2 separate regions of the Homo sapiens genome follow, and region 1 is linked to region 2. The links are contacts of gene promoters, found by promoter capture Hi-C in blood cells and fetal thymus (Javierre and others, 2016). All regions are on one chromosome and are shown on one strand. Each heading gives the region's core, a stretch centred on a gene start or on the middle of the fragment in contact. The rest is flanking DNA. Distances are from core to core; before and after follow the strand shown.

What was found. The method cuts DNA at HindIII sites, captures the fragments that hold promoters and counts their contacts. A CHiCAGO score of 5 or more calls a contact.
Region 1: the fragment with the promoter of PLEKHF1 here is called in contact with the fragment with the promoter of UQCRFS1 in region 2 in 1 of 17 cell types (erythroblasts); the score reaches 7.5 in erythroblasts.

What each region holds. Positions count from the first base shown.
Region 1 is chr19:29,664,147-29,668,238 of GRCh38, forward strand. It overlaps PLEKHF1 (pleckstrin homology and FYVE domain containing 1), which reads left to right and starts at 1,315. Exons shown (of 2, transcript NM_024310.5): 1 at 1,315-1,359. LOC105372353 (a long non-coding RNA gene) reads right to left here and starts at 1,109. Exons shown (of 7, transcript XR_935896.3): 1 at 1,061-1,109; 2 at 1-61. RefSeq lists a silencer at 883-1,552 and enhancers at 1,074-1,627, 1,628-2,181, 1,633-1,752, 2,373-2,422. The HindIII fragment of the contact is 18,952 bases long and covers 598-4,092 here.
Region 2 is chr19:29,211,309-29,215,264 of GRCh38, forward strand. It overlaps UQCRFS1 (ubiquinol-cytochrome c reductase, Rieske iron-sulfur polypeptide 1), which reads right to left and starts at 1,843. Exons shown (of 2, transcript NM_006003.3): 1 at 1,597-1,843. The coding sequence starts at 1,810. UQCRFS1-DT (UQCRFS1 divergent transcript) reads left to right here and starts at 1,945. Exons shown (of 2, transcript NR_184022.1): 1 at 1,945-2,100. RefSeq lists a silencer at 1,437-1,746 and an enhancer at 1,787-2,026. The HindIII fragment of the contact is 13,970 bases long and covers 1-3,956 here.

The DNA.
Region 1 (4,092 bases), core at 65-2,564, 450 kb after region 2:
TCCTATGCGCTGCCCGTTCTCAGCACTCGGTATGCAGGGGTGAACCAGAAGAAAGTCCTGTCTGAACACGAGAAGAAATTACTGTCTAGCCCGTGGGGCTCACAGCCTGGGTGGGAGGCAAGCCACCAGCATGACTTGTTTATGAGCATTCCACAGAAGCCACAGCCTGGTAGGCAGCCCTGAATCCCACGAGCGGCCTCAGGAGAGGACTCTGGGTTGGGAGATGCTTTGCAAAATTACAAACACGGGTGACTGTGGAGGGAGATGGGGTGGAGACAGGGAACCGCTTTGGGTGGCCAGGGCAGCCTCCCTGAGGAGGTGACAGTTTGAGGTCTGATGGAGGTAGAAGCAAAGGCCTGAGGCTTTAAGGAACAGGAAGAAGCCCATTTGAGAGGACCTGTGGGGAGGAGGCCAGGGAGGGCCAGGAAGGCCTCCGGGCACTGAGGCCTGGGAATTTCCTTCTGAGCCGCACAGGAGGCTCAGGTGCGGTTGAGTCAGGGGTGACATAACTTGCTGCTAGTGTTGGACCTGGGTGACGGGCACCAGGGTCCCCTGGACTATTCTCTTTCCTTCAGTTTGAAATTTTCCACTATAAAAAGCTTAAAATAGGCCAGGTGCGGTGGCTCACTACTGAAATCCCAGCACTTTAGGAGGTCAAGGCGAGAGGATGGCTTGAGCTAAGGGGTTCGAGACCAGCCTGGGCAACATAGTGAGACCTCCGTCTGTACAAAAATACAAAAACTAGCCGGTCCTGGTGGGCTAATTCTCCTGGGGTCAGGATGATTTCTGTGCAGGCTGCAGTGAGCCGTGACCGCGCCATTGCACTCCAGCCTGGGCGACAGAGGGAGACACCGTCTCAAAAAAAAAAAAAGGTTATAAAGTGCTGCTGCATTTTCATATTACGATTATTGACCGCTGAGGGTGACTGTGCTGTGAGGCCCGCCGGAGGCACCAGAAGGCACAAGCCTCCCACTGCCCCTTTCCCCGCCAAGTCCCGCAGGTCTCGCAGTCGCGGGCGCCCCCACCCCACCCCTGCCCAAGGCCAGGGTCGCAGTCCCACCGGGTGACGGCAGTCGCGCTCCGCGTGGGGCAGCGGCGAGCGGAAAGGGAAGCCGGGCGGGGCCAGGGGGTCAAACACGGGCGACAGTCCCGCCCAGCCCCGGACCTGCAGCGCGCACAAGCTCGGGCGCCCTCCGAGCGCCGCGCCCAAGCCCCGCCCCTCCCGCTTCCCGGGCTCCGATTGGCCGAGCCACCGCGGGGGCGTGTCCGGCGGAGCTGGCCGGGACCCGGGCGGAGCGGGCGGGGACCCGGGCTACTGCGGTGTGGACTCGAGGGCTGGGCGCGGGGCCGGCGCAGAAGGTGAGTCCCCCCACCGTCCCCCGGCCGGGCTGCGGGTCGCGGGGCAGGCGCATGAGGCGAGTCTCCCATCACCACCCCCGGACAAGCGAGCTCTCTCCCGCCGCGCGGTCTTGGCGGCTCCTGGGCCGGCGGGGCGCAGTGCCGCTGACTCCAGCCCAAGAAGAGGCCTGGGAAGGGCGCTCCTGGGCGGCTTGCGGGGTGAACCTGCAGGGAGCCTGGGGAGAGCGGTCAGGGGTCAGAGCGTCCGAGGCGGAATCCCCGGGGAAACGCGCAGATGTAAGCTGGTGGAGGTAAGGGGGTCGCGGGCCACCCGGGACTGCAGGGGTCTCAGCGCACCCGGTCGCTGGTGGTGTTTCCGGGATCCTGGCCTCGTGTGGCCGCCGGGACCTCTCTTCTCAGCCCCAGTCTGCAGTCTGGAGGCCTGGATGGGACCACTGTCCCCCTGGGCAGGGGCGCGGCGGGGGGCGCTGGGGTCCCAGTTCCTCTGGAGCAGTTGAGTTTGTGATTCTTGGTGGGAGCTGCCAAGGGAAACAGGGTCGGGCACTGCTCCCATCTCAGAGAGGAAACTATTGAGCAGGCCCGCAGAGAGAGGCGGCCTGGAATCTCCCTCCTTTCTCGTTTCCCCAACACCTGGCGGGCCGTGTAGGGCAGAGGTGTGGTCAGCCTCTTTGCAGGTGGGAAAGCAGAGAGGTTCCGAGCCACGCTGAAACTTGATCTCTGCAGCCCAAGGGGAGCACTCCTTTGGAATTTGAACACCTCTGGTATCTCCTGGCCAGAGAGGGTCAGAGGCCAAGGAGGTGGGGAGGTAGTCCCCTAATGCGCTGGGATCGTCCCTCTGCACAGCGTCGTTCCCACTGGAGTCTGTTGTGAGCTGAGATGACTCTCTGACTTCGGCCTGCGTCCCTGCACACGTCAGCCCTCCGGGCTGCCAAAACACAGGCCAGGCAGCCCTGGGTGAACTAGGGGACCTGCCCAACCCAGCCCACCCCGAGGAAGGAAGGGGGATTGGCCAGTGTGGCCTGGAGGGTGGGACAGCCCAGCCAAGCTGACGGACCTGCTCGGGATGGGGTGGGCATCAGGCATTTGGAGCGCAGGCAACACCCGCTGGACTCTGACTTCTGGAGTTCTGATTTGGTCTCTGGTTGAGTGCAGCTTTCCACAGCTCATGGTTATTTTGGAGCCGAGCTTCCTGATCACTCAGCAGGGACCTTGGGCAGTGACTTTGATGTGGTGGAAGTACCTTCCCCAAGGGGGCTTTTGTGAGGATTAAGTGAAATAATGAACGTAATATGCTTAACTTTGTGCCTGGTGAGCTCTAAGTGCTCAGTCGGCGGCACTTCCAGTTTTGTTTTGCTTTGTTTTTCATTACCGGTCTCTTCCCGGAGGAGGGCCTTCCAGGAATCACAGGGCTGGACAGAGCCCAGGGGCGGCCCCTCTGGAGGGAGAGGAGGCTTGGCGCCTGATGCTGCAGTCTCAATGCACATGGAGAAAACCTCACATCCTCACGCTGGCCTGGGAGCCTGCAGGATGTCTCCTGCCGGCACTGCAACCTCATCTGTCCTCCTTGCCCCATCGCTCCTTCCTCCGCAGCCTGACTTCACCCATTCCACCTTGAGCTGCTCCCCAGGACCGGAGCTCTGCCCCTAGATCTTTGCACAGCTGACTTCAGGCTGGAGTGAGTTCACTTCCTCCCAAGGCCTTCCTTCCTCGACCTCCACCGTCCTCCCAGGCCCTGCCCTGCTGGGCGCACCAGTCTTTTTCTTCACAGTGTTTAGCACTGGCTCTCAGAAAAGACCCTGTGAATGTACTTCTAGTCTCACTGGCAAGAAGTGTGCATTCCTGAAGGGCCTGGTCTCCAGCTCCCGGCTGTAACCTCGCACAGTGTCTGGCACACAGTGGGACTCATAAATATTTGGAAAATGAAATCAGGCAGGCATGGAAGCAGGGTGGGTCTGCGTGCGGCCCAGGTCCCTGCAGGGAAGGAGGAGCCCCGATCTGGAAGTCAAGGGAAAGTCCAAAGGGCTGAGCTGCCCCCAGAACTCTGATTCCCTTGGTGACCCTGGCCCTGCACGTCCCTGAGCAGGTTCTCCACCTGTAACCCGAGGCAGAGCAGTTACAGCCCCCACCCCATCCCCCACCGCTGCCCAGCTCCTACTTTCCAGGGCTACCATCTTGGGGCCCCACGCATCTCTCATTTATCCAAAATGCTGTGTCCGGAGTAGGAGAGAGGACAGGACGACTCCCGTCAGGACAGTACCTTGTGTGGCCTGTTCAGCGTGCCCTGCAGTGTGTGCATTATACATTTTACAATGTGGCATGGTGTAGATCAGGGGTTGGCTAACCTTTTCTCTCAAGAGCTGGTAGCAAATAGTTTAGGTTTTGCCAGCCATACAGCCTCTGTCCCACATGGCTGTGTTTGAATAAAACTGGATTTAGAAAAGCTGGCAGTGGCCCAGATTTGGTGTAGCTCTCCAGCCCCTGCTGTTGATCACGTATCACACCTGGGCTGCCACATACAGAACCTGGCTTCATGGCTTCTGCAGCCACACGGGGGCTCTCAGGATGTGGCTCCCAAGCCGCAGTGCTCACATGAGCACCTCCAGCCCCTGTGCAGGCAGCAGGATTGCTGAGCCTGAGAGCCCCCACCCCTCTGAACCCTCAAAGAAAGATGCAGGTCTGTTCGTTGCCTGGTCTCCCAGGCTTACTGAGCCTGCGCTGGGGTCACCCCTCTAC
Region 2 (3,956 bases), core at 593-3,092:
GTAAGCCTCCAATTTTTTGAAGAAACTTTAGCAACACGACGAATTCCAAAGATGCTTTTCTTTTGCTATTGAAATGTTCTCCTTCCTTCCTTCTCACCTCCAGGTCCCAAGGATGGGCTAGGGTACTCTACACCTGCCATGGACAGTTTCTTCAAAACCCACTGATGCTCCTTAACAAATATTCATTCACAAATACTTTGCACTAACTGTATACAAAATCCGACGTTGTGAAAGATAGAAAAATAAAGAAGATATTACCTTCTCTATGCCCTTAAGCCCAAGGGTGGAGGAGTTACCAATAAACACAATACAGAGTGTAAAGTGTATGTGCTACAGAGACAGACAAATCAGCAAATAAAAACTTTATTCACCTGATCCTTAACTGAGATTGAAAAGATGGGTAAGGAAAACATATGGACATGTAGCAACTTAGTGGAAGGACCATGAAGAAAGTGCAGAGCCCAGGGTGAATGAAGACAGAGTAAAAAGAAAAGTGGCGGGCAATTTGGTTAGCGTGTAGGGGAAGAGTCACAAACAGCTATCAGTGGAGCCAGGCTGGTAACAGAATGAAACACGCAGACCTGGTAAAGACTGTGACAAACTGGAGAAGACCACTTGCTCCAACTGCGGGGGCGGCCACTACACAGCACACTATGGAATTTTCCCAAGTAGAAACTAGATCCCAGTATTACCGGCTTCCAGCATTTTAAGAGATGCCATTAGTCTTCCCAGTTTTTTTGAAAACTACACAGCCTGCAGACACACTGCCCACAGGCTGCCATTTCTCTATCTCCGATACAGGGCCAAGTAAAGATGGAAGGCGAGGCAAAGAAGATAAACGGGGATCTAAGGACAGAGGGTGTGGAATAGCCCCTGCGAAGAGCTCAGTGGCTACGACAATTCGTCTTGTCAAATCCCTGCTACCACATGTCCACACCACGGATCCTGGTGCGAGTCATTCTACCTCGTCTGTTTTCTCATCTGTAAAATGTAAATGTCGTCAATCTCTGCCCGTCCTTGACGACTGATTATGTTGTGACACTACACTGTAACTGACCTTGTGTATGTTTTTTTTGTTTTTTTTTTGGTGGGGGGGTGATGAAGGGGAAGGACATGAAGGGATCGGTAGTGGTGAGAAGACCAACTTCCCAAATATTAGTAAGTTTCCATTTCTTAAGCATGTAAGTGCCCAAACTGTGCTAACGGCTTTACGTAGAATTCCTCCACCTAAGCCTCACGACACCCCTACAAAATTGATAAAGATATGAATCCATTTCACAGGAAGTACGTTTAGAAACTCGCCCAAGGTCAAACGACCTGCAAGCAACAAAACCCCTCAGAGGTGGCTGGAACAGCGGGACTACAGAGCTCGTGAACTCGGCCGAGGAGGAACCAGGCGAAGCCGGCGGACGCGAGTCCAGGCCGGCCACCAGAAAGACGCCCCGAGCCCGGGGGCCAGGCCCAGAGTTGCGGAGGCCGCCCAGCCCGACCTGATTCAGGCTCCGCTCGCGCGCCCGCGGCCGCTCCCTGCTGGGGGCCGGAGGAGCGGGCACCGAGAGACCCCCAGCCCTGCTCGCGGCCCTCGCCCCGGCTCACCATTGAGGCCCACGGAGGCGACCAAAGGCCGGCGCACGGCCTGGCCGCTCAGCGACTCCCGGCTGAGGAAGGGCCGCTTCAGGTCCAACACAGGCTGCTCCGGGGTGGCGGGCACCGTGGCCTGCACCAAGGGCCGCAGCGCGCCCGCCACCCCGCGGGACGTGGCCGACAGGACGGGCGCGAACGGGCCTGAGCGGGATGCTACCGACAACATGGCGACAGCCGCTCCAACCGCCAAGCCGGTCACAGGGACGACCTTCCAACCACGGCGCAGGCGCGAGGAGGCGCGGGACGCGTGACGACAGCGCGCCGCCGGAAAGGAAATTCTGCAGTCCTGCAGGGCGGGGCAAACTTGGAGAGGCGCTGCGTCGGGGGACGGGGCTACAAGCCGTCGCTGGGGGCGGGGCTTGCGGCCCACCTGTAGGTCCCGGTGCCACCTCGTCAGTGTCCCGAGAGATCCCCAGAAGAACGAGAGGGCTGAACAGGGGACCCCACTGACGTCCGGTGGGCCGACTTTACGATCCTTTAGGGTAAAAATTTCATCTAGGAAGACCTAGAGATAACAATAAACGATTATAGTTTAACTTAGGATGGTAATATATCTCAACTACGACGAAGTCCAGCACATAGTAATCGCTATGTGTTTACTATGATGATTTTTATTATCTTCATCTAACAACAACAACAACAAAAAGGCCAGAGGCATCTGTGCAAAGCTCGATAATGCTAATGGATTATGTTTATTAAGTATTCACTGTGTATTTGGTTTTGCGTTTTATTATACCTACGTTCTTTCATTTGTTATCAAGGTCTCTATGAAGTCAGAGCTATTACTATCAGCATTTTACCCATGAAGAAACCGAGGTTTAGAGAGATTCTTTTCCAGGAACTGGATAGCCAGCAAGATGTGAAGCAGGGTAATCTGTCTCCTGAGTCTATGCTCTTCAGTGCCACCACTGTTTCCCAAAGTAGGATTTTAGAATTTTAGAGGATGCACAGAGCTCGCTCATTCATGTTCCATCACATAGTGAGAAAGTTTTGTTTTCTTTTGTTTTGTTTTTCAATCCTGATTGCACCAATGAGAAAGTCTCAGTTTGGTGCTAATACATCTTTAATTAAAAAAAAAAAAAAGTAGAGATGAGGTCTCACTATATTGCCCACTCCAGTCTCGAACTTCTGGCCTCAAGGAGTCCTGTCTCCCCCTCCCAAAGTACTGGGATTATAGGCATGAGCAAATTCACTTGGCCTCAGTTTGATCCTAATATATCTTTAATTCCTCTCTACACTTATCTCCCACTTTTAACAGAAAAGATCTTGAGTTAGAAGCTCTTAGCAGAGAACTGAGTCTAGAGTGATTTCATTATATGGTTCATAGTATTGATTTTCTATCCATACTGGTTTTCTATTCTGTACTATACTGAGATAAAGTTTTTCATTTAGGTCAAAAATAATTTAAATATTAAGTAAATGTTAATATAAGCAGTGCACAGAATTGGCTCTGTGCTGTGCATGGGCTCTGTGATCTGGGCAAGTTCCCTCACCTCTCTGTGCCTCAGTTTCCTCACCTGCCAAATGGGGGCAGTAATGATGCCATGTGTGTTGTAAAGTTACTGGGAGGAGTAAATGAACTAAAACGTGTAAAGCATCTACAAGCAGGCCCAGCACACAGGCAGCACCAAGTGAGGATTTGCTAGTGGTGTTTTTATCTGAGATGCCACCTCCTCTAAGAAGCCTTCCCTTGATCCTTGCTGACTCGTTGTTATTCCTCATGCCAGGTCCAAAGTGTACTGACAGGTTTCCCCTTTGACCTTCCTATGACTCCCCTTAGGGCCTAGGCTTTGACCAGCCTTATAGCCCAAGGGACTATATTGTACTCTCAAGATTGGAGGCTGCCTCCTCAGGGGCCACCCTAGCCAGGCTCATCACACAGCTGGCTCAGTGCTCTCCCTTGGCAACAACCTTAGGATAAAAGACATTTCCAGAGAAGTTGTCACACAGCATGCATGGTTTGAGTGCTTCACAAGAAATAATATCACAATTCCCTCTGAGTTGGTAAGGAAATGAAAAATGAATGAATGAATGAATGATCCTTCACAAAACCTTCACAATGTCCCAGTTGGGTGAACAGAATAGGAATTATCTCCAGACCTCCTGGGTTCAATTTTAGTTTCACCACTCACTAGCTGTGCCCTAGGGCAAGTTATTTAATCTCTGTGTGTGCCTCCGTCTTTCTCTTGTAAAACAGAGATAATAACAGGATCTACCCTAGAGAGTTATTTTAAGGATGAGATGGATTAATACATGTAAAATGCCTAGAACTGTGCCTGGCACACAGTATGTAAATATCTGCAATAATAATA